4 separate regions of the Homo sapiens genome follow, and regions 1, 3 and 4 are each linked to region 2. The links are contacts of gene promoters, found by promoter capture Hi-C in blood cells and fetal thymus (Javierre and others, 2016). All regions are on one chromosome and are shown on one strand. Each heading gives the region's core, a stretch centred on a gene start or on the middle of the fragment in contact. The rest is flanking DNA. Distances are from core to core; before and after follow the strand shown.

What was found. Contacts are between HindIII fragments. The CHiCAGO score rates a contact against its expected background, and 5 or more counts as called.
Region 1: a fragment that was not itself captured here is called in contact with the fragment with the promoter of SLC18B1 in region 2 in 2 of 17 cell types (naive CD4 T cells and total CD4 T cells); the score reaches 6.6 in naive CD4 T cells.
Region 3: a contact is called between a fragment that was not itself captured here and the fragment with the promoter of SLC18B1 in region 2, in 4 of 17 cell types (activated CD4 T cells, M0 macrophages, naive CD8 T cells and 1 more). The highest score is 7.5, in activated CD4 T cells.
Region 4: a fragment that was not itself captured here is called in contact with the fragment with the promoter of SLC18B1 in region 2 in 1 of 17 cell types (naive CD8 T cells); the score reaches 7.3 in naive CD8 T cells.

Annotation. Positions count from the first base shown.
Region 1 is chr6:133,937,483-133,940,182 of GRCh38, forward strand. No RefSeq gene overlaps it. Among named protein-coding and RNA genes, the nearest start is that of TBPL1, 14 kb to the right of the region's middle. The HindIII fragment of the contact is 2,003 bases long and covers 393-2,395 here.
Region 2 is chr6:132,797,234-132,799,933 of GRCh38, forward strand. It overlaps SLC18B1 (solute carrier family 18 member B1), which reads right to left and starts at 1,404. Exons shown (of 14, transcript NM_052831.3): 1 at 1,181-1,404. The coding sequence starts at 1,223. RefSeq lists an enhancer at 1-190 and a silencer at 1,422-1,471. The HindIII fragment of the contact is 1,643 bases long and covers 1-1,639 here.
Region 3 is chr6:133,982,086-133,984,785 of GRCh38, forward strand. It overlaps TBPL1 (TATA-box binding protein like 1), which reads left to right. Exons shown (of 7, transcript NM_004865.4): 3 at 483-565; 4 at 732-795; 5 at 2,291-2,394; 6 at 2,492-2,586. Among named protein-coding and RNA genes, the nearest start is that of TBPL1, 30 kb to the left of the region's middle. RefSeq lists an enhancer at 1,380-1,549. The HindIII fragment of the contact is 1,639 bases long and covers 496-2,134 here.
Region 4 is chr6:134,093,194-134,095,893 of GRCh38, forward strand. All of the region lies in intron 2 of LOC124901404 (a long non-coding RNA gene), which reads left to right. Among named protein-coding and RNA genes, the nearest start is that of SLC2A12, 42 kb to the left of the region's middle. RefSeq lists a silencer at 189-258. The HindIII fragment of the contact is 6,249 bases long and covers 1-2,700 here.

The DNA.
Region 1 (2,700 bases), core at 144-2,643, 1.1 Mb after region 2:
GGGTCTCTCTTGTAAGCTGCATATAGTTAGATTTTGTTTTTGTTTTGTTTTGTTTTTCTTTTTCTTTTTTTGAAATGGAATCTCACTCTGTCACCCAAGCTGGAGTGCTGTGGCTCCACTGCAACCTGGGTTCACTGCAACGTCCACCTCCCAGGTTCAAGTGATTCTGCTGCCTCAGCCTCCCAGGTAGCTGGGATTACAGATATGCGCCATCAAGCTCTGCTAATTTTTGTATTTCTAGTACAGATGTGGTTTCACCATGTTGGCCAAGCTGGTCTTGAACTCCTGACCTCAAGTGATCCACCCACCTCAGCCTCCCAAAGTGCTAGGATTACAGGCCTGAGCCACTGTGCCTGTCCTGTTTTGTTTTTCTTAATCAGTCAAGCTTGATAAGCTTGACTTTTAACTGGAGTATTTAGTTCATATACATTTAATGTAATTGTCTACATATTTGGGTTTTAATTTACCATCTTATGGTGTGCTATTTGTTCTACCTATTCAGTATATACTTTTCTCTTTTTTCTTGCTTCTTTCAACAAATTGTTTCTTATCATCCAATTTTTTCCCTTTACTGCTGGGAGATTGTGTAATTTGTTTCTATTCTTTTAGTAATTATCCTAGAATTACAACATGCATACTTAACCTTTACCCTTCATACAAGCTGCTTAGGATATTTGATTCCATTTGACCCTCTTCAACATATGTGATACTTGTAATTGCATTTTTTTCTATTTTTTAGATGCTATATTGTTGTTCTTTTACTCTTTCAGTGTATATTAACTTATTTATTCACCACTTTCTTTGTTCTTTATACCTTTTTATAGCTTACATTTTTTTTATCTGCCTAACGCACTTTTTTTATAACTTTCTTTAGTATGATTCTGCTTAGGAAAAACTACTAGTCTTCATTAGCCTGAAAATGTCTTTATTTCAGCCTCACTATTAAAATATTTTTCACTAGACATTAAGACTAGATAGTAATTTTCTCTCAGTAAGTGGAAGATCCCCCTCCATTGTCTTCTGATGTCTCTTGCTGCTGCTGAGCAGTCATGTCAGTTTCATATTTACTCCTTTGAAAGCAATTCATCACTTTTCTCTGATTGTTTTCACTATTTTCTTTTCTTTTTCTATTTTTTTTAGCTTTGCTCTTCAGCTGTTTCATTATGACAATTTTAGATATAGGTTTCTTCTTGTTTATTTTGCTTGAGACTCACTGGGTTGTCTTAACCTGTACATTAGTGTCTTTCATGTACATTAGTGTCTTTCATCACTTCCGTAAAATTCTCAGCCATTATCTCTTCAGATATTACCTTTGCCCCATTTCTCTCTCCTCTCCTTCCTAGATTCTGATGAGATGTATATTAATCTATTCTCCTCTGTTGTTTATTTCTTTTAATTCTTATTCTGTGTTTTCTTTTTGTCTCTCTGTTTCACTTTTAAATTATTGTTTTTCTGACCTAGCTCCTAGTTCACCAATTCTCTTTTCAACTGTATTTAGTCTGCCGTTAAAGTCATCAACTGGCTTTCAAGGTGGCCTAAAATGCATATTTACCTCCTTGCCCTTTCAAAATGCAATTAAATTGAAGAAATGTAAAAATAAAAATTATGTAAAAACATAAACATAAAAATTAATTCAGGCCAGGCATGGTGGCTTACACCTAGAGTCCCAGCACTTTGGGGGGCTGAGGTGGGTGGATCACCTGAGGTCAGGAGTTTGAGACCAGCCTAGCCAACATGGTGAAACCTCATCTCTACTAAAAATACAAAAAAAAAAAAAAAAATTAGCCAGGTGTGGTTGCGCATGCCTGTAATCCCAGTTACTTGGGAGACTGAGGCAGGAGAATCGCTTGAACCCAGGAGGTGGAGGTTGCAGTGAGCCAAGATTGTGCTATTGCACTCCAGCCTGGTGACAGAGTGAGACTCCGTCTCAAAGAAAAAAAAATTAATTCGTAGCAGCACTAAAAACCAGTATGGAGTGCCACCAGAAGACTAAAACAGTGGAGAATTTCTGAACCATATAAATTTATTTTATTCTTTGGTCCTTTTTTAAATATCTGCAACGTAATTTTTCCCGAAGATATTTCAAATTTATCTTTTATTTCATTAAATAATAACTATAGTTTTATTACCTGTTTTATAACCTGCTAAATCCAAATATTAAGTATTTGTGGTTCTATGGCCTTTGTTATTTCTGTTTGTTCTTGCTTATGTTGTCTTCTTTCCTCATGTGTCTGTTTAAACTTGACTACACATGTTCTGGTAATAGTACTTTAAAATGTATTTGTGGGAACTATCCTAGCCTAACAGGAATCCACCTTCCTATAGAGAGATATCTTTGTTTCTGCTAGGCACCTAAGGACACCATCAGTCTGAGACTACCTTAATCTAAGTTCAAAGCTTGAAATTCCCGGGACCGTCACCATGATGGAAACAACCAAAAGAGGATTTGTTTATTTCAGGTATATTCTTGCCCTAAGGACACAGCCCTTTCATTTCCTACCTCACTGTCAGGAGGATCTCCTTCCTGTTCAGCTTCCTGCTTTGTGCAATCCCTGGGCAATTGCCATACCTTTCACTCAGTGGGGACATCAAAACGAAAGTTCAAGTTGTCATTACCCCTACAAAGCATAAACACCTTCTACTGCTTATTTATCTCTCTTGGTTCTTTTTCGTTCCTAATTTTGGTCTTACAGTATCTTA
Region 2 (2,700 bases), core at 154-2,653:
TAGGGCTATTTTGAATATAGCACATTTGATCAAATGGAACACAATCCTTGTACATTACTGCCGTTTTGAAAACGTACTGCTTTCGGCTGGGCACGGTGGCTCACGCCTGTAATCCCAGAACTTTGGGAGGCCGAGGCAGGCGGATCACGAGGTCAGGAGATCGAGACCATCCTGGCTAACACGGTGAAACCCCGTCTCTACTAAAAATACAAAAAATTAGCCGGGCGTGGTGGCGGGCCCCTGTATCCCAGCTACTCGGGAGGCTGAGGCAGGAGAATGGCGTGAACCCGGGAGGCGGAGCTTGCAGTGAGCCAAGATCGCACCACTGCACTCCAGCCTGGGCTACAGAGAGAGACTCCGTCTCAAAAAAGCAAAACAAAACAAACAAACAAAAACAAAAACAAAAACAAAAAACAAAGATTTCTAAGGCAGTATTGAAGTCAAATGAAGTGTAAGTAGGAGAAAACAAGCTAAATCATTCAGCTGGTGAATTAATATTTACAGCGGTATGCTTCTGGATAGACAAGTCCCACAAATTCATAAATAAATACTTTTTTTTTACCCTAATTACTGGTCTTTTACATCAGTTAATTTAACACTTATTTCCAGGGCTAAATTGTCATTTAAAAACACGAAATCAATTACTGAGTTCCAAATATCCAAGCAAATCCATCAGCCATTTATAAATTAAATTGTTTTTAGGAAAAACTTAAGAGAAATACATTTGCTTTGCTCTATTTGTCAGAGGTTGCCATTGCAGTCCAGAAGGAAAAAAAAAATCAGTGCAACATGAGGAAGTCTTACGAATCTTTGTAAAATGTTTGTAGTAGATGAGAAAGGGAAATGAAAGTTAAAAAGAAAGGCAACAACAATGGGTACTTGAAAGGTAACGTTTTACATTTGCCTAATGGCATACTTATTTGAATGCATTAAACACACAGTACTTAAAAAGCAGAGGTATAGGTTAGAAAGTCATTAGAAACCGTGACACATATCCAATCCTGGAACTTTACCCCGTCCAGAGAGAAAAGAAACGCTGGCCCGAACCCCACGATCAGGCCCCAGCCTTTTCCAATCTCTCGGAAACAGATCAAGCTATAAGCAATTCAATCGTTGCTAAAGAGACACGCCGGAAGCCGCCGCTGGTCTCCGGGCTCCCGGCCACGCAATTCATGGTCACCTCCTGGTGCGCGTGGTCCCTCCAGGTCACCCAGCGCCTCCATCCCCGGTGCGTGGACTCCGGCGCCCCAGCTCCCGGCTTCAAGCCACGTCCTTGGACTCGACCTCCAAGGAGCCACTGGCACTCTGGCGGGCGGCCGCTGCTCAGCTGGAACCTGGCATCCCCGACTCCCTGCAGGCAGCGATCCGCCCGGCCCGGAGCTCCCCAAAGCCTTCCAGGACTCTGGGTCCCCGGGAGGAGGCCGGGGGCGGGGCAGGGGTGGAGCAAGGCTCCTTTTTTTTTTGTTTTGCGCCCCCCCCCCGCCTCATTATCTTAATCCACCACCTCAGCTGCTATATCATGGTGTCCTTTTTCATTCTGTGACAGAGAGTGAAAAAAGATGAGTCTATATTCCATACAGCTGTACCCCCCTCAATCTTAAAATAAGTTCAATTTATTCCTACGAAACGAAAGAAAGGAAGCTTATGTAGACACAGAAAAGGCAGGGAGTACCTCAACTGAAAGACACAAAAGTGAATTAGAAAATTAGGTTATACAGGAACTTTGAAAGAGTGAATTATTTTTCACAGTGGGTAAATGCGGTAGTGTTCGTAATTACTGAAGCCAGACACTATTGAACCGGAAATGAATTAACCTATGTGAAGCACCTGGAGTCGAAAAATATTTGCAAGAATACTAATGAATATCGAGGAAGCATGGCGAAGTGGCTAGGAGTGCGACCTCTGGAGGCAGGTGCCAGGGATTCAAGCCAGGGCACTTGCTGGCAGTGTGTAACTTTGGATGACAAGGTCAGTTTCTCTACCTGTACAACTGAGATTATAATGTTTATCTCGTAGGGCGGCTGTGAGCATTGGCGATAAAGTGTGTTAGTAGTTAGCACATGAACATGATGGCTGCTACCTTACTCTCACACTCACAGTTTTCTTGCATAAAAAATAGGTTTCACTTATTTTCACCGTATTTACTATTTGGGAAGTGTTAAAGCTCGAGGACTGGCTGGACACGGTGGCTCATGCCTGTAATCCCAGCAGTTTGGGAGGCCGAGGTGGGCAGCTCACCTGAGGTCAGGAGTTCTAGACCAGCCCGGCCAACATGGTGAAACCCTGTCTCTACTATAAAAATACAAAAAAATCAGCCAGGCGTGGTGGCAGGCACCTGTAATCCCAGCTACTAGGGAGGCTGAGGCAGGAGAATCGTTTGAACCTGGGAGGCGGAGGTTACAGTGAGCCAAGATCCAAAAGAATTGTGTGAGGGTAGCTTTATCGACTGAGAATCTGCCTCAGATCCACTGTACAAGGTCAGTTCCAGTACACAGTATGGCTGATAGTAAGTTTGTAATTACTGTGCCACCTCATTCCAGCCTGGGTGAAAAAGCGAAACTCTGTCTCAAATAAATAAATAAAGTTTAAGGACTGGGAAATTCTTGTTTTGAAGCCAAAGCAAAACAAAAGACTGAGTTACCACTTTGTGCCAGGCATTATGAATTTAAAGAGGAATGAGCCCCATCCAGACTCTGCCCT
Region 3 (2,700 bases), core at 65-2,564, 1.2 Mb after region 2:
GATGGGTGTTTCAGGGAAATGATTAGGGAGGGCCTCTCTTCAGGAGGTGACATCTGGTAAGAGACCTGAATGAAGTGAGAATATTGAGGGGATAATATTCCAAATGAAAGCAACAGCTACTGCAAAGCTTCTGAAGCATGAACAGATTTGGTGTGTGTGAAGAACCATGCAAGTTCCAGTTATATGACTGGGGTGGAATGAGAGTTGAATTGTTTATATACTTGGAGTACATTGATTTCAAGTATATAGAGTGAGAGATTTCTATACACCTTGTATTTTTAATTAATCAAATGTCTTTTTGGATTAATATGTTCTTTGTGTTTGGTATTGTACTTGATTTCAGAATGGTAGATTTGGAGAGCAGTTATTGCAGTCTTGGATAAGCTTGGAGAGTAGTATTTGGACATTAATATGACTATATAGAACAGAACCTTATGTGAAAAATAATGCTTATGAGGTAATCAGATTTTTTTTCCCCCCAGAAAGTATTAATGAAGCTTAGAAAACCTAGAATTACAGCTACAATTTGGTCCTCAGGAAAAATTATTTGCACTGGAGCAACAAGGTAAATGCTACTTGGGTTTTTTGTTTTTATTTTTTACTTTTTCCCTCATGGAAAGGACATTTTCCTAGACTTAACAGCAAAATCATATGTAAAGTTTGTTATGTTCCTCAGTATAACATTTATTTCCTGTGTAACTGATAATCTTTTTCTTTCCTTAAAACCGTAGTGAAGAAGAAGCTAAATTTGGTGCCAGACGCTTAGCCCGTAGTCTGCAGAAACTAGGTTTTCAGGTAACGTTTTCAAATAGTATCTAAACTACAAATATTCAAGGACTTATTTTTATAGAATTAAAAATTGTAATAGACTCAAGAAATCACTATGCGTACTATTCTTATGATTAAACTTTTTCTAGGTTTTTTAATACTGCCCTTCAGTGTGAAAATTAGTAGCAAAATTTGGCTATGTGGGTATTTGTAAAGGATCCTAGCTTTTTCCCTAATTCCTTTCCCATAAAGAGACTTGTTTCCTCACAAGTTAATTTCCTTTTCAACTCTTTTTTAAGTGTTTTCACCTCTGACGTACACAAACAAAATGGTTTTTGGTCATCTCAAGAATGCCAGGTCAGAATGGTGAATAGAGAATGGCAGAGGCCGTTGACATGGACACACCAGCTGGCAGGCTCTCACACTTGTAACGTGACTGTCACTGGCATGTCAGCCTCATCACTATAACTTGATAGAGGTATACCTTTGAATAAAACGATTACATATTATGGACTTGCTAGGTCACTTGCAAATGATGAATAAATGAAAGATAAAGATGAGAATGGTCCCTGAAGATGAGGGCAAGGCTGTTTGGGATTGAGACAAGTTTGTAGAAGTGGGGATAGGAAGTTACCTTTCCCTCTGATGACTCAGTCTCTCTGAAGTAGAGGGTGATAGGAAGAGACTGAACGGCTGGTGGGGAGTGGGGGTTGGTGCTTGAGAAGGGTGGCAGTAGAGAGAGGCTTGAGTTGTACTGTGATTTGAGAGTGCTGCCACTTTGCGGTTTCCTGGCTTTGCGCAACTGCTGTGTGCAAGGCTGAGTTGAAGGATAGTTCGCTCACCCAAAATTGTGGTTTTAGGAGGAATGTTTGAAAAGATAATGAGATGAAACGAAGATGTTGGTTGGAGTGGCCAAAGTTATTAATGTTAACAGCATTATTTTCAGCCTTGGAACTTCTTTTCTTAGTGTAACATTAGAAGTGTTGAGAGAAATCCCAATTAGTTAGAAACAAATTTATCACTCTATCCCCAGAAAGAAAATAAACATCTAGCTAATCTCACAGAAATGTCATTTTGCCTTATTGCATATGAGAAAAACATCTGACTTTTGGAGCCCAGTGTACACTCTGTATTTACTGACTTTAAAGTGACATCTTTTCCATTTTTACTCTAGCAGGATGACCTGGACTTAAATTTTTTTTCCCTCACTATTCTCTCTCCTTTCTCAGTAGTTTTAAATATTTCACTTAAAGTATTAAAAAATTAAACATATGATTAGAAAGACCCATACTGTTTTGATCATGCAAATACCTCAGTTTTTAATTTTTTTAATGGAGTTTTTGAGCTTTTTAAAAAACTGAATTAAAGCTTTCCATGCTACACAACTTACAGTACTAAACATACACTTAAAATGTTTTTGTTTTATCTTGTTTGCTCTTGTTTTTAAGGATTGCCATTATGAGCAGATTTTTTGTTTGTTTGTTTCAAAATAAATTTATTGAATTTTACTTCTCTCCTAAAGGTAATATTTACAGATTTTAAGGTTGTTAACGTTCTGGCAGTGTGTAACATGCCATTTGAAATCCGTTTGCCAGAATTCACAAAGAACAATAGACCTCATGCCAGGTAAGTCTTTGAAGCAATTTATCTTGAGAAATTACCAAATTTGAAATTACTAGTCAGGGTATAAATATTTATATTAATTGTGGCTTATTTTGTGTAGTTACGAACCTGAACTTCATCCTGCTGTGTGCTATCGGATAAAATCTCTAAGAGCTACATTACAGATTTTTTCAACAGGAAGTATCACAGTAACAGGTATTCTATGATATTGAAACCACACTTATCAATTATGGATTGAATGATACAAGATGCTCATACCAAGATAGAAATAATGTGTGATTTGTTCCTTTCAGTCACTTCTGCCCTTTA
Region 4 (2,700 bases), core at 198-2,697, 1.3 Mb after region 2:
ACTCAGTTTGTAGTACTTTGTTACAGCAGCCCTGAGAAACTAATACATACCCAATCATGAGACCAACCTTGGGGAAAAATCTTACTTGTTTGAACTCTCCCCAGAATCACCTAACACAAGCCAAAATCATGTAAGTCCTCTCACACCCTCTACTGACATGCCCCACAGTTCCCCATACACAGCATGGTATGGTATTTCACTTCTCCTTTGTTATGAAAAGTCAATAAAACCACCCTTGTTTAGTTACCAGTGTGCTCCCGGTAGCCTTTGGCTAGAGGGCATTGACACAACTCAGATAACTTTTTTCCTCAATAATGTGTATAGTTTTTGCTGTTTCAACTGCTTGAGTTTTTCTTGGGGAACTCTTAACTTCATATCACAGATGTCTATTCTCTAATATCTTCTCTTCATTATGAAAAGGCTTTTATACATCATAACTGATTTTTATCCAATTTCAAGTCTGCTCTTTATTGCTTCAAATGTGGATTTTTAATTTGATTTCTGCATTTTGAAATTCATTTAAAATATTTCATAATCTTTCTACTTTCATTGTCTTAGTGCACTTTTGAAATCTGTTCAGTCTTTTGTCTTATAACTTGCTGGTCTTATTTTACATAGGAATATCATTTTGAATCCTCTCGAAAATTTCAAAGCATTTTTTTAACCTCTCAATTTTTCTTCTGGATTCTATAATCATTTTTATATATTTTTTTAGAGGGTTTTGTTTGTTTGCTTGCTTTTGGTGGGGGCGGGGGGGTTCCAATATCTGGAATCTCTTCTTTGGTTCGGTAATACATTTTCAAAATCTCCCATGCTTTTTGTTTATGTGTAGTATCACAGATTACTGTTAGAAAGTATTCACCTCTATGGAGAAATATACTCAACTAAGCCAGCCTAGATCAACCAATCCCTACCTGACTCAAACATTTATAAGAATAAATATTTATTGTTGTATGTCCCTAAGATCATGAGATAGGCCTTGGGGAAAAACCTATGCCTTGCTATGCATCGTCTGCTAATGGATACACTATGTTTTCTTATTTCTTTGCCTATTCATAGTCCCATGAGGGGTTACCTAACAGACCTGGAATTTGCCAGAGCGTGGATGATGTTTTTGGTTTTACTGTCTGACAATTGGATGCGGGTTAAATGTTCTCTTTAGGTCTATAACTGTTTAATAGGTTAGTATACTCAGCTCCTAGCCCAAATTCTAGCAGCTAACCAATTGCTTACATCTAGCTTTGTTCTGTGGAACCAATGGGATTGTATTTTACCTCTTCTACTATTTCTCTGACACTGAACACAAAGAGAATATGAAAAGTGATTCCTTACAGAGCTGGCACTTTCTGCTTAGAGTACTTTACTTAGGAGATTACATAGCCCAAGATTCAATGCATTCTCTACTAGTTCAATTGTCTTCTGGGAGTTGCAGTCACAGCAGGGAGGAAGAGATGCCTGAGTTTTTTTGTTTTCATTTTTCCTTCCAGTCCAGTCCTTGCATTTCTGGAGCAGGGGTAGACGGTTTGGGAGGTATTAAGGCTGTTCAGTTTCCTGTGTCACAGCACAGGCTGGGCATTTCAACCCAGGCCATTCCTGAGAGTTAAGAAACATTTCTCTTAGGGTCTAGAATATTACCAGTCTTGATTTTCAGTGCTGCAAGTTTTTATATATTTCTCTTTTCCTCAGAATTTTATTTTTTATTTATTTATTTTTTTTCAATAGGAGGTCTCAGATTGAAACCCTGAGTCCATGCACCATTGCTCCCATGCCTGCCACTTGTCAACCCTCCTGTGTAACTGGCTCTGTTGGATACTCTTTTCCCAAGAATTTTAATAAGAAGTAGGAAGAGGATGGGTCAGAGACTCCTCACGGGTTGCCATCTTAAATAATGGAATAAAAATGAATACAGCTATGTAACTAGAATATATGTGGCTTATAGGAAGGGAATAATTTTCCATTTCTTACCTAATTTATAGCAGAGTACTAGACACATAGTAATTGTTCAGTAAATCTTTTTGATGGATCAAATCAGTTTCATCTAAACCATAGACAATCCCTTATTATCCAAATGGCATTTTTTGGCAACCAAAAAATAAATTTTACACCCATTTCCAAGGTAAAACTATCATGCTATAAGATATCAAGTTACTTGATATTTATTCATTTGATGTAAATTAGAACCAAACTCATATGCTTTTTTTTCTTTTTTTTTTTTTTTTTTGTTTTGAGATGGAGTCTCGCTCTATCTCCCAGGCTGGAGTGCAGTGGTACAATCTCAGCTCACTGCAACCTCTGCCTCCTGGGTTCAAGCAATTCTCCTGTCTCAGCCTCCTGAGTAGCTGGGACTACAGGCACATGCCACCATGCCCGGGTAATTTTTGTATTTTTTAGTAGAGACAGGGTTTTGCCATGTTGCGCAGGCTGGTCTCTAACTCCTGGCCTCAGGTGATCTGCTGGCCTCGGCCTCCCAAAGTGCTGGGATTACAGGCGTGAGCCACCACACCCAGCCCCAAACTCATGCATTTATTATGAAGATTAAATAAGAGTATTGCTTACAGTAGTCAGTATAATGTCACTATAACAGTAAGTATGTCTTACAGTTAATAAACATGAGCTTTTATTATAAGCCTCTTAGAATGTAAGTTCCTTCAAGGCAGGACTTTGACAGTTTTCATCAACCCTATAGCCCTAATATCTTAG